Regions from separate parts of the Homo sapiens genome. Here region 1 is linked to region 2. The links are contacts of gene promoters, found by promoter capture Hi-C in human tissues and cell types (Jung and others, 2019). All regions are on one chromosome and are shown on one strand. The core of a region is centred on a gene start or on the middle of the fragment in contact, and the rest is flanking DNA. Distances in the headings are between cores, read along the strand shown.

The links. The method cuts DNA at HindIII sites, captures the fragments that hold promoters and counts their contacts. A contact is called where the count stands out against the background at its distance.
Region 1: a fragment that was not itself captured here is called in contact with the fragment with the promoter of PRADC1 in region 2 in 1 of the 25 tissues and cell types used here (aorta).

Annotation. Positions count from the first base shown.
Region 1 is chr2:71,319,043-71,321,987 of GRCh38, forward strand. No RefSeq gene overlaps it. Among named protein-coding and RNA genes, the nearest start is that of ZNF638, 11 kb to the right of the region's middle. The HindIII fragment of the contact is 5,244 bases long and covers 1-2,945 here.
Region 2 is chr2:73,231,595-73,234,729 of GRCh38, forward strand. PRADC1 (protease associated domain containing 1) reads right to left here and starts at 1,645. Exons shown (of 5, transcript NM_032319.3): 1 at 1,500-1,645. The coding sequence starts at 1,566. CCT7 (chaperonin containing TCP1 subunit 7) reads left to right here and starts at 2,714. Exons shown (of 12, transcript NM_006429.4): 1 at 2,714-2,790. The coding sequence starts at 2,785. RefSeq lists a silencer at 1,692-1,901 and enhancers at 2,189-2,720, 2,362-2,411, 2,532-2,601. The HindIII fragment of the contact is 5,775 bases long and covers 1-3,135 here.

The DNA of each region.
Region 1 (2,945 bases), core at 222-2,721, 1.9 Mb before region 2:
ATGTTTCCATTTGTTTGTGTCATCTATGATTTCTTTCAGCAGTGTTTTGTAGTTTTCCTTGTAGAGGTCTTTCAAGTCCTTGGTTAGGTATATTCCTGAGGTTTTTTTTTTTTTTTTTTTTTTTTGCAGCTATTGTAAAAGAGGTTGAGTTCTTGATTTGATTCTCAGCTCGGTTGCTGTTGGTGTATAGAAGGGCTACTGATTTGCGTACATTAATTTTGTATCTGGAAACTTTGTTGAAAAACTTTCTTTTATCAGTTCTAGGAGCTTTCTGGAGGAGTCTCTAGGGTTTTCTAGGTAAACAATCATATCATCAGCAAACAGTGACAGTTTGACTTCCTCTTTCCTTATTTGGGTGCCCTTTATTTCTTTCTCCTGTCTGATTGCTCTGGCTAGGACTTCCAGTACTATATTGAAGAGGAGTGGTGAGAGTGGGCATCCTTGTTTTGTTCCAGTTCTTGGAGGGAGTGCTTTCAACTTTTCCCCATTCCGTATTATGTTGGCTGTGGGTTTGTCATAGATGGCTTTTATTACATTGAGATATGTCCCTTGTATGCTGATTTTGCTGAGAGTTTTAATCATGAAAGGATGCTGGATATTGTCGAGTGCTTTTTCTGTATCTATTGAGATGATTATGTGATTTCTGTTTTTGATTCTGTTTATGTGGTATATATCATATTTATTGACTTGCATATGTTAAACCATCCCTGCATTCCTGGTATGAAAGCCACCTGATCATGGTGGATTATCTTTTTGATATGTTGCTGGATTCAGTTAGCTAGTATTTTGTGAAGAATTTTAGCATCTATGTTCATCAGGGATATTGGTCTGTGGTTTTCTTTTTTGGTTATGTCCTTTCCTGGTTTTGGTATTAGGGTGATACTGGCTTCATAGAATGATTTAGGGAGGGTTCCCTCTTTCTCTATCTTGTGGAATAGTGTCAATAGCATTGGTACCAATTCTTCTTTGAATGTCTGTTAGAATGCTGCTGTGAATCCTTCTGGTCCTGGACTTTTTGTTGTTGGTAATTTTTTTTATTACCATTTCAGTCTTGCTGCTTGTTATTGGTCTGTTCAGAGTATCTAATTCTTCCTGATTTAGGCTAGAAAGGTTGTATCTTTCCAGAAATGTATTCATCTCCTCTAGGTTTTCAAGTTTATGCACGTAAAGGTGTTTATAGTAGCCTTGAATGATCTTTTGTGTTTCTGTGGTGTCAGTTGTGATATCTCCCGTTTTCATTTCTAACTGAGCTTATTTGGATTTTCTCTCTTTTTTTTTTTTTTGGTTAATCATGCTAATGGTCTATCAATTTTGTTTATCTTTTCAAAGAACCAGCTTTTTGCTTCATTTATCTTTTGTATTTTTTTGTTTCAATTACATTTAGTTCTGCTCTGATCTTGGTTATTTCCTTTCTTCTGCTGGGTTTGGGTTTGATTTGTTCTTGTTTCTTTAGTTCCTTGAGATGTGACCTTATATTGTCTGTTGGTGCTCTTTCAGACTTTTTGTTGTAGGCATTTAGGGCTATGAACTTTTTTCTTAGCACCACCTTTGCTGTATCCCAGAGGTTTTAATAGGTTGTGTCAGTATTGTTGTTCAGTTCAAAGAATTTTTAAATTTCCATCTTGATTTCATTTTTGACCCAGTGATCATTCAGGAGCAGGTTATTTAATTTCCATGCATTTGCATGATTTTGAAGGTTCTTTTTGGAGTTGATTTCCAGTTTTATTCCACTGTGGTCTGAGAGAGTGCTTGATATAATTTCAATTTTCTTGAATTTATTGAGGCCCATTTTGTGGCTTGTCATATGGTCTATCTTGGAGAATGTTCCATGTGCTGTTTAATAGAATGTGTATTCTGCGGTTGTTGGGTACAATGTTCTGTATATCTGTTAAGTTCATTTGTTCCAGGGTATAGTTTAAATTGTTTCTTTGTTGACTTTATCTTGATGACGTGTCTAATGCTGTCAGTGGAGTACTGAAGTCTCCCACTATTATTGTGTTGCTGTCTATCTCATTTCTTAGGTCTATTAGTAATTGTTTTATAAATTTGGGAGCTCCAGTGTTAGGTGCATATGTTTAGGATTATAATATTTTCCTGTTAGACAAAGCCTTTTATCATTATATAATGTTCCTCTTTGTCTTTTTAAACTGCTGTTGCTTTAAAGTTTGTTTTATCTGATACAAGAATATCTACTCCTGCTTGCTTTTGGTGTGTCTCTTGAAGGCAGCAGATAGTTGGTTGGTAAATTCTTATCTATTCTGCAGTTCTGTATTTTTTAAGTGGAGCATTTAGGCCATTTACATGCAACGTTAGTATCGAGATGTGAGGTACCATTCTGTTCATTAATTGTTTCATTTGTTGTCTGTAGACCTTGGGTTTTTTTGTTTGTTTGTTTTATAGGTCCTGTGAGATTTATGGTATAAAGAGGTTCTGTTTTGATGTGTTTCCAGGATTTGTTTCAAGATTTAGAGCTCCTTTTAGCAGTTCTTGTAGTGCTGGTTTGGTAGTTGTCAATTGTCTCAGCATTTGTTTGTGTGAAAAAGACTTTATCTTTCCTTCACTTATGAAGCTTAGTTTTGCTGGGTACAAAATTCTTGGCTGATAATTTTTTTTTTTTTTTTTTCGAGATGGAGTCTCACTCTGCTGCTCAGGCTGGAATGCAATGCTGTGATGTCAGCTCACTGCAACCTCTGCCTCCCGGGTTCAAGCAATTCTCCTGCATCAGCCTCCTGAGTAGCTGGGATCACAGACATGTGCCACCATGACCAGCTAATTTTTGTATTTTTAGTAGAAACGGGGTTTCACCATGTTGGCCAGGCTGGTCTCAAACTCCTAACCTTGTGATCTGCCCACCTAGGCCTCCCAAAGTGCTGGGATTACAGGCGTGAGCCATCACGCCTGGCCTATTGGCTGATAATTGTTTTGTTTGAGGAGGCTGAAGACAG
Region 2 (3,135 bases), core at 395-2,894:
ATTTTTTAGTAGAGAGGGTTTCGCCATGTTGACCAGGCTGATTTTTTTTTTTCATTTTTTAAATAGGAATGGGGTCTCGCCTTGTTGCCAGGGCTTGTGATCCTCCCACCTTGGCTTACCAAAGTCCTGGGATTACAGGCGTGAGCCACCGCACCTGCCCTGGATTCATAATTTTTAAATATCTGCCTCTTCCACTTTGTAACTTCATTCAGTGAAGAGTCACCAGTGTCTTGCACAGTGGCTACAATATAGGGATAGCCCTATAAACTTTCCTGAATGGGTGAACAACTATATCTAGCTCCACAGCACCGATGAAGAGAATTTCCAGACCACTAGATTTTTCTGGGGCATGGGATCTTCTCCTCAGCACCAAAGTTTAATGTTGTACCTGGACTTGAGTCCCTGGTTTCCTTAACCCAGAGAGACTGCGGAATGTTGAAAGATAAAAACTGCTGTCATGGGCGGGCGCGGTGGCTCACGCCTGTAATCCCAGCACTTTGGGAGGCCGAGGCGGGCAGATCACGAGGTCAGGAGATCGAGACCATCCTGGCTAACACGGTGAAACCCCCGTCTCTACTAAAAATACAAAAAAATTAGCCGGGCGTGGTGGTGGGCGCCTGTAGTCCCAGCTACTTGGGAGGCTGAGGCAGGAGAATGGCGTGAACCCGGGAGGCGGAGCTTGCAGTGAGCCGAGATCGGGCCACTGCACTGCAACCTGGGCGACAGAGCAAGACTCCGTCTCAAAAAAAAAAAAAAGAAAAAAAGAAAACTGCTGTCACAAGTCTGTTAGTCTATCAACAAACTACCAAGTCACTACTGTGTACCAAGGATGGCATTAAGGCTTTAGCTGTCTTTGTTTACTGCCCAAATCACAGCCATCAGTTAGAGCTCCCATGGCTTGGCACTGGGCTATACAGTCCTGGGAGTGGGGACTCCCTCTCGGATACAAATACACCCCCAGAAAGCCTTCCTGGACTAGCGTCAAACTCACTCCCTCCTCCCCAACCCTTGCTTGCCTTTGTGTGTGCTTATTTGTGTAAGTTGTGGGTATACGTATGTGCTCACTTATGTGCATAGATGTATACATTTATGTGCTTGTGTAGGTGTAAACGGTTTGTGCGTGTGTGCCCACGTGTAGGAATGTGTGCTCCTGTGTACATGTGAATGCTCACATACATATCTCCAGCCTGTAGTATCCTTCCTTAGCTGTCCCTTCTGGTCGCACCCTAAGTCACCTGGGTCGGCGCTAGTGGGCGGGGAGGGGCGAGTGGGGAGATCTGCTTTGTCGTGGGAAGGTGAGGAGTCAGAGCTTCAGCCTCAGGCTGCGCCCACTTTATGTCCTTGGACCACCACCCACTTATTCCGGCCGCCCGCTCCCAGACCTGTCCTGCTCTGAACTCGCAGGGTCCCCAAGGTGACCCTTGGCCCCCAACCCGAGACGCGCGCAAGCTGGACGGCCAGCCCCGCCCTGCAACGCAGTCCCACCCGTTGCCGCTCACCGTGGGCCGCGACGCACGCGGGGAGCCAGAGCACGAGACAACACCAGCCCGCGGCGCCGGGGACCATCTCCAGGGCCGGGCCCGGCCCGGCGCCGCGTTTCCTCTCGCCGCCCCGCCGCGCGTCGCTCGCAGGACTTCAGCCTGACAGCTGCTCCGGCCTCCCGCCCACATACCCGCTCTCGCCGCGGGCTGGACGACGGGAACGAGGCTCAAGGCTGATTGGCTCTGACGCCTGCTCATGTAGCCACACTTTCCGCCTCTGCGCCTTAGCCTACTTCCTATTGGTCGAGAGAAGTGGAGCCGGGGGCTGATTGGCTTAAACTCTTAACAGCTACAACCGGCCTTCGCCTCAGCCCCGCCCCAGCATACTCTCCGGGTCCTCGCTGGCGGTGGGCGGGCCAGGGAGGACAAGCACTGGAGGTGTGCCCGTAGCCGGACTTGCTTCAGCTGTCGATAGTCGAGGCCGTTAACCCTTGCGGTCTCGGTCCTGTCCACTCCAAGGCCGCCTCGATTGACGACGATTAGCCTTCTCCCAGCTGCGCTTCCCTCCTCCCAGCTGCGCTTCCCTCCTCCCCACGCCTTCACGGGAAGGCACTCGTCTTGCGCCAGGGGGTCTTCCGCCCAGTGCCACCAACGCTTGCGCGCTCACCGTGGATAGGCGCTGGGGCCGCGGCCTGGCGCACGCCATCCACGAGGAGCCTCTGGCCAGTGCAAAGCCAGAAAACGGGCATTGGGGGCAGCTTCCCACGCTCGTCCCGTTGACACTGACTATGTAACTGTGACACTGGACACCTTGACCTCTCAGCCTCCTTTCTGTCATCAGTAAAATGGCCTTAATAGGACCAACGCAATAGGGTTGTGAGGATTAAATGAGATCGCTCACGTAAAGTGCTTTGGCACCAGCCTATCCCACACTTTGCGTCCCACACTTTTGCCTTTATTGCATTCCTTGGTCTGGCGTCCGGGGATGGAGGAGGGTGGAATTAAGTTAGTAGGTGATGCGGGCCGAGCAAAGACCCTCCGTGCTCTAAGAAGCACGACCGAAATGCGGCGACCCCTCTTTAATGAACGCCCCTCACTAGAGAGTCCCCGAAGCCCAGCCTCAGGTCCTTCTAGCCGCACCGAGTCGGTGGTAACGAACCATAGAGTAGCGGAAGTGGTCCGTTCTCTTCCTCTCCCGGCCCAAGCTTCTGGGTATTTCTATTGCGCGAGGCATTGTGGGTTGCTGGGCGGCCCGGTCTCGGAGAAGAGGGGAGAGTGGCGGGCCGCTGAATAAGCTTCCAAAATGATGGTGAGTGGCGTCTCGCGCATCCGTCGCCATCAGCTGCCATCTGGCCGGTGGCCGGCGCCGCTCGGCCTGGGCTTGCTCTGTAGGACCCTCTTTTGCTTGCCGCCTCTGTCCTCGCCCAGATCCCCAGCTTAGGGGCGACCCCAGCCAGCCGCGGCCTGGCTCGGCCCGAGCACGGCGCTGGAGCCGTTGGCGAGGGCTGCGTGGGGCTTTAGAGGAGTCTCTGGGCTGGCCGGTTGGGGACTACAAGTCCCAGGGTGCTTCGGGCCCGCGAACCCACGTCGGGGACCTCTTTTTTAGCCCCGCATGATCGGGACTTGCGTGAAACGAGTGCAGGTCGGCCGTGGT